Regions from separate parts of the Homo sapiens genome. Here region 1 is linked to region 2. Evidence: promoter capture Hi-C in human tissues and cell types (Jung and others, 2019). All regions are on one chromosome and are shown on one strand. Each heading gives the region's core, a stretch centred on a gene start or on the middle of the fragment in contact. The rest is flanking DNA. Distances are from core to core; before and after follow the strand shown.

What was found. Contacts are between HindIII fragments. The study calls those that stand out against the background at their distance.
Region 1: a fragment that was not itself captured here is called in contact with the fragment with the promoter of ROR2 in region 2 in 1 of the 25 tissues and cell types used here (spleen).

Annotation. Positions count from the first base shown.
Region 1 is chr9:91,723,595-91,727,155 of GRCh38, reverse strand. It overlaps ROR2 (receptor tyrosine kinase like orphan receptor 2), which reads left to right. Exons shown (of 9, transcript NM_004560.4): 8 at 413-615; 9 at 2,049-3,561. The coding sequence ends at 3,494. Among named protein-coding and RNA genes, the nearest start is that of MIR3910-2, 89 kb to the right of the region's middle. The HindIII fragment of the contact is 9,202 bases long and covers 1-3,561 here.
Region 2 is chr9:91,948,809-91,952,356 of GRCh38, reverse strand. It overlaps ROR2 (receptor tyrosine kinase like orphan receptor 2), which reads left to right and starts at 2,129. Exons shown (of 9, transcript NM_004560.4): 1 at 2,129-2,490. The coding sequence starts at 2,394. RefSeq lists silencers at 1,556-1,850, 1,964-2,143 and enhancers at 2,337-2,836, 2,837-3,338. The HindIII fragment of the contact is 10,523 bases long and covers 1-3,548 here.

The sequences.
Region 1 (3,561 bases), core at 613-3,112, 220 kb after region 2:
GACAAGGGTCTCCAGTGAATTTCATGAACTTGTCAGTAGCTGGGGAGACCTTGATAAAAGTGAAATTGGGCAGAGCACCTATCTCCGATGGTATTCAAACATCAGGAACAGAAAGCGGATGTGGTCGTTATTAAGATCATTAGAATTCATTTACTTTTTATACTGCATATTCCCGCTTGTTTCCAGGTTGGGCAGTTTTGGGTTTTGTTTCCCCAGGATGCAGCCGGGTGTGCATTTTTTGGTGCATCATGTTTTTTAAGGTGTGGTGTGCCCTTTTACCCCATTGTGTAACTTAGGTGATGACACACGTGCACGTGAAGATTTTGGCTGGAGGTGGAGAGTGGGTTGGTAGAGAACTTAGAGTAGAAAAGGGATGTTTTCTGAAAAATCACGAAAGCCTTATTGTTCACAGGTCCCCGAGACAGCAGCAAGATGGGGATTCTGTACATCTTGGTCCCCAGCATCGCAATTCCACTGGTCATCGCTTGCCTTTTCTTCTTGGTTTGCATGTGCCGGAATAAGCAGAAGGCATCTGCGTCCACACCGCAGCGGCGACAGCTGATGGCCTCGCCCAGCCAAGACATGGAAATGCCCCTCATTAACCAGCACAAACAGGTCTCCATGCCTTACATTTTCTACCCGGGTGGCTCTTCCAGGTTTAATCCTCAGGGGTTGTTTCCCCCAACATTAAATGTCTTAATTTACTTGATACATAGCACATAATTATTTTAAACTCCGCTTCATTTTGCCATTTTTTTTTTCTGTAAACTAGATCAGGACATGTGTGCTTTAGAAAATAAATGGCAGGCGTGTTGGGAATTCACTGCCCCAGAGTCCATGGGCCTCCTTCTGCCTGGACCATGCTGCCCCTGTGGGCCCCAGCGAGTGTCCTCACTGTCCAGGTGCCTCAGCTCTGCCCAGAAGACACACAAGAACAACAGGGCTCCAATGCTCCCCATAATTTTTCTTGACACTTTTGGGTTGGGTTGGTTTTGCTTTGTTTTGTTTACAGGGAAGGATAGGAGAATAGCTCTTAAATGGGAGTAGGTGGACAGGCTACCACTAAAAGGCCACCCCTCATCCCAGAGCAGCCTTAGATGGGGGTGGGGCACTGAAATACAACAGATGAGAACATGTGCTGCAGCCTCTCCAGGTTGTGTTGTAAAAGGGCATTTACACTCATTGCAAGCCGTAGGTAACATCATTCTCAGCCAGCTTTGCAGGGGCTCTTCAAGGTGGCCAGGAGGGAGCTGATGCACTTGGCTCTTCAGTCCCAGAGTCGGTGAGAGTTTGCTATGGGCAGGGGCTGGCCAGCGAGGAGGGCACAGAGCCCCGGGGCTTGCACGGAGGCCCAGGAACCTCTGGGGAGGATGAGGGCTGGCCACACGGGAGGAGCTGGTGTCATAGAGGCCGAGAGAGATGCAGGGTTCTCAGGGCTCCTATCACCTGTGGGGTACTCTTTCCAGGAACATGTTTAACAGAGACCCTAGTCAAGAGGCCCATGGACAGGCCCATTGAGGGAACCTCTGTAGAACAACTGGCTTGGACTCTTATAAGTGACAAAATTGCCAAGACAAAAATGTCGTGGGAAAGCCTCTGTGGGGTCCATGAGAAAAAGACATCACATCTCACGTGATGTGTCGGCACACATGGGGGTTGGAGGGAACCTGGCAGGGTATGTCCGGGGCAGCCCCAGGGCAGCTGGTGCCTGGGCCTGGCTGTAGGGTGTGTGTGTGTGTCCACACATGCACAAGTGGGAAGGAAGTCAGTGTGTCCCAGCTGGATTTTGGAGGGACCTTATTTGTAGCCTGGTTGGGATCTGTGGAAGATTGCAGATGGGAAGCAACCTTGGCATCAGAGCCGTATTTAAGGTTAACTAGAGAGCTGTGGGTGGGCAGGCCAAGGCTGGGTGGGCAAAACCAGCGGGTCTTCTGCAAGGCCCCCCTAGTCGTGGCCGCACAGGGACTCCACTCCTCCCGGCTGCTCTGCAGCTTCCTCCAGGGCTGCGGTGACAGTGATGTTTCACGTGGGGCTTTTCTTCTTGACAGGCCAAACTCAAAGAGATCAGCCTGTCTGCGGTGAGGTTCATGGAGGAGCTGGGAGAGGACCGGTTTGGGAAAGTCTACAAAGGTCACCTGTTCGGCCCTGCCCCGGGGGAGCAGACCCAGGCTGTGGCCATCAAAACGCTGAAGGACAAAGCGGAGGGGCCCCTGCGGGAGGAGTTCCGGCATGAGGCTATGCTGCGAGCACGGCTGCAACACCCCAACGTCGTCTGCCTGCTGGGCGTGGTGACCAAGGACCAGCCCCTGAGCATGATCTTCAGCTACTGTTCGCACGGCGACCTCCACGAATTCCTGGTCATGCGCTCGCCGCACTCGGACGTGGGCAGCACCGATGATGACCGCACGGTGAAGTCCGCCCTGGAGCCCCCCGACTTCGTGCACCTTGTGGCACAGATCGCGGCGGGGATGGAGTACCTATCCAGCCACCACGTGGTTCACAAGGACCTGGCCACCCGCAATGTGCTAGTGTACGACAAGCTGAACGTGAAGATCTCAGACTTGGGCCTCTTCCGAGAGGTGTATGCCGCCGATTACTACAAGCTGCTGGGGAACTCGCTGCTGCCTATCCGCTGGATGGCCCCAGAGGCCATCATGTACGGCAAGTTCTCCATCGACTCAGACATCTGGTCCTACGGTGTGGTCCTGTGGGAGGTCTTCAGCTACGGCCTGCAGCCCTACTGCGGGTACTCCAACCAGGATGTGGTGGAGATGATCCGGAACCGGCAGGTGCTGCCTTGCCCCGATGACTGTCCCGCCTGGGTGTATGCCCTCATGATCGAGTGCTGGAACGAGTTCCCCAGCCGGCGGCCCCGCTTCAAGGACATCCACAGCCGGCTCCGAGCCTGGGGCAACCTTTCCAACTACAACAGCTCGGCGCAGACCTCGGGGGCCAGCAACACCACGCAGACCAGCTCCCTGAGCACCAGCCCAGTGAGCAATGTGAGCAACGCCCGCTACGTGGGGCCCAAGCAGAAGGCCCCGCCCTTCCCACAGCCCCAGTTCATCCCCATGAAGGGCCAGATCAGACCCATGGTGCCCCCGCCGCAGCTCTACGTCCCCGTCAACGGCTACCAGCCGGTGCCGGCCTATGGGGCCTACCTGCCCAACTTCTACCCGGTGCAGATCCCAATGCAGATGGCCCCGCAGCAGGTGCCTCCTCAGATGGTCCCCAAGCCCAGCTCACACCACAGTGGCAGTGGCTCCACCAGCACAGGCTACGTCACCACGGCCCCCTCCAACACATCCATGGCAGACAGGGCAGCCCTGCTCTCAGAGGGCGCTGATGACACACAGAACGCCCCAGAAGATGGGGCCCAGAGCACCGTGCAGGAAGCAGAGGAGGAGGAGGAAGGCTCTGTCCCAGAGACTGAGCTGCTGGGGGACTGTGACACTCTGCAGGTGGACGAGGCCCAAGTCCAGCTGGAAGCTTGAGTGGCACCAGGGCCCGGGGTTCGGGGATAGAAGCCCCGCCGAGACCCCACAGGGACCTCAGTCACCT
Region 2 (3,548 bases), core at 880-3,379:
ACTCCTCTAGCCCCAGCGAGCCTTCAGATAATGGCAGCACTGGCTGACATCTGACTGCAACCTCCTGAGAGACCCTGAGCCAGCACCATCTAGCTAAGTCTCTCCTGCCTTCTCGACCCAGAGAAATGGTGTGAAATAACGAATGTTTACTGTTTTTAGCTGTTAAATCGTGGGGCAATTTGTTATGTGGCAATTGATGACTAATACAGATGGAAAGGAATATGTTGCTCCAATTTGGCCTTGGACGTAAGCCATATTCTCTTAACCACTGAGAAAGCTTGTATTTTCATCCTTCCAACTTTGCTTTTTTTGTTTATCCTTCAGTTCAGAACCTACAGAAAGGGAAGGAGAGAGTGAGAGAGAAATGCCAAAAAAGAAAGCTTTAAAAGGCTTTTAAGAAATCATATGCAATATAACCCACATTTCTGACTCCACCCAAGAAACTGTCAGCAAAATATATGTTGCTGTTTAAACCTTTGAGTTGGGTTTGTGGGGCCTCAGTCATGTGAAAATAACACACAGATGGGGGCATGATGAGGTCATTTTCCTGAAGGTCACACAAAAATAAATGGCAGGGCTGCTGATGAAATGGTTCTGGAGCCACATGCTCACGCTGTGTGAAGTGGAAAGCAAAGGTGCTGGGACCACCTTCTCCGAGCTGCACAGCACCACGGAAAGGACACAGCATTGCTGAGGGAGGGGTTTTCCAGGGCAGGTTCAAGACCCTTCTCTGCAGCCCCTGTTGGGTTTTCCCTAGATCCAGAAGAGAGGGGTGTGGAACTAAGTGCTTCAGCACCTACTCTTAAAACATTACTCTAAAAGCATCCTTAAGGATTCTAAGGGAAGCTAAAGGGAGGAAAACCCCAAAGATAAACCCCTGGCAGTCCTCTAACCACTGGGGAGAGCAGCCCCCCCGTTCAGACCCGCACCAGCCTGGGCAGAGGAACAGCCTGAGCCCGTCTAAGAAGTTTGGTAATAATTTTGCCATCCAGTTGAGGAGGGGCTAGGATCTTCTCCCATTCTCCTACTGGATTTACAGCAGCTCCTGGGAATGAGAACTGCGTGAGATATTTCCCTACACAAATTGGGTAGAGATAGCCGGACGCCTAAATACTTTTAACAGAGGTAACAAGCTAGAGCTGGCTTAGTCATTTTGTCCGCAGACCATAGCAAGAGAGTTTTTATTTCTGGCCACGTCTGAGGCCTCACGTCTGGCACCCAAGGCCAGGGCTCTCCCTAATGCCCTCCAATTAACAGAGCTTGGTACTCCAGCAAAAACACCAAACAAACTGCTGGATAATCAGTTAAAAGATCAATCTCATGGAACAAGCAACTGAGATGCTGGAGAATCCAATTCCTTCCTCTAAGAGGAAAAACAAAGACATTTGCATGTGCTGAGCAAAACCAAGAATAAGCAAGAAAACATGCTATTTGAATTCCGTTCAAAATGTCTCTAATAAGTGAAGCAAATTCTGCACATTCTGGGCCTCTGCAGAGAACAAATAGTGTTCTGCCTTTAATGGGTAAAATTATACAATTTGCTTTTAACAGTAAACCAAAAGCCGCGGTGGCTTCGGATAGCATCGCGCTCCCGAGGGCTCCCTCCACGCAGCTCGACCCCTGGCAGTTTTGAGCATTTCGGGGGACGCGCTTGTCCCCACCGACCTGGGAGGGCGCCGGTGCCAAGGCGGCCTGTTTGTTTTCCTGAACATTTCCTTTTGCAACTTTCGCTTCTCCTCTTCCTGCCTCACCGCTGGTGTCTGGGGCTGGGTGGCTCTCAGATTTGTCCCGGTGCGCAGTGCAGCCTGGAGTTACTGATTTGTGACCTAGATCCCCGGGTGTGTCGCCCCCGAAAGTCGGGGGCACCCGCTCTGGGCGCCTCTCCTGCGTGGGCAGACCCGCCGAACTCCGGCTGACGCCCCCAAGGCGCCACCTTTGTGTTCAAGCGTTCCGAGGCGCAGGCCCGAGGGCGGGCGCAGGAGGCAGGTCCGGGGCCCCAGCTGCAGCCCCAGCTCCTTGGGTCCCGCCCGCCGCCCGCGCGTTCCCCCGGCAGGGGGCGCCGGCGCAAGCCTCGCTCTGCCCATCGGGGCGGGCGAGCGGGGACCCTGCCTCCTGCGCGCTCGCCCGCGGTCCGCCCCCCGCGCTCGTCCTGGCGGCCGGCGGGACGCCCCAGCCCGCGCCAAGGAACCTCCCCAGCCAGCCCTTGCCGTGGCCGGAGCCGAGCGGCGCATCCGGGCCGGAGAAGAGGACGACGACGAGGTCCTCGAAGTGGACCCGTTTGCGAAGCGCCAGGGAGAAGGAGGAGCGGACGCATCGTAGAAAGGGGTGGTGGCGCCCGACCCCGCGCCCCGGCCCGAAGCTCTGAGGGCTTCCCGGCCCCCACTGCCTGCGGCATGGCCCGGGGCTCGGCGCTCCCGCGGCGGCCGCTGCTGTGCATCCCGGCCGTCTGGGCGGCCGCCGCGCTTCTGCTCTCAGTGTCCCGGACTTCAGGTAGGATCTGGCGTTCCGGCTTGTGCGCAGACGGTAGCTCACGGCTCGCTTGGCCAGCCCTTCCGCCGCCACTATGCTCCCGGCCGCTGCGCCGGCGCCCATGCTCCTGAACGAGGGGCGCCAGGCAGGGCCATTCGCATCTCGCCCGACGCCGCTCCCGGCCCGCACCCCGGACCCCCTCGGGCTGGTTACAATAAGCCGCGCTCTGGGGACGCCTAAGTGTTTCCAGAGTCTGGGGGCGGGCGGCGGCGGCTGGGAGCCTCTCGGTGGCGCTTCCCGAGGGTCGCGAGTGGGAGTGCGAGTGTGAATGTGAGTACCCGCCCTGGGCCCGGGACCCGAGTCCGCAGATGTGCCCCGAGGGTCCCAGGACCCGGGCTTCCTCCCCGAGGTCTTCCTCCTTCAAGGGCACACGGCCCCGAGTGTCCCCCGTCTGTCTCGGAGCGTCCCCCCACCCCCAGGGCGGCCTGATGCCTGGCAGAATCCTGGGGTGGACGTGGCCCCGGAGAAGCGGCTCTTGCGGCGGGGGTGGGGGCGCCGGCGGCTCCCGGGTCCTGACTTTCCCAGCCCGCGGGCCGCTTGATGGAAACGGGCTCTTTGGCATCCCTTTTGTTGGTCCCTGAAACCTCCTCTCCCCCACCGCTCTGGGGTGGCCGAAGTGGTGTGTGATCTGGATTGAAATGGTTTGTGACTGGGATCGCGGGTCCCTGAGCGGCTGGGGCGCGGCCGCCTTCTGGCCGCGCCGGGGGGACCCCCGGGACCTGTAGGAGGCTGGCGGCGGGAGGGGCGGGGCCCGGCTCCTAGGTGGGTTTCCTCCCGGGGCCCCACTTCCCCCGAGTCCCTGCGCGGTTTCGGCTGCTTGGATCCGGGGCGCAGAGGAACGGCGGGGAGGTTCGGAAGTGCAGCTTGGGACCTGCCTAGGTTGCCTGGAGGAGGCGGCGTTAGCTCTGGCGGTGCAGACTCCGGGAGCACCTCCCGCCCGCGCGCCTCGGGCCGGATTCTCGGCACCCTGCGGGGGTGGAGGAGGGCGGGCGGGGCCTTCAGGCCCAGGAGCGCCAGAG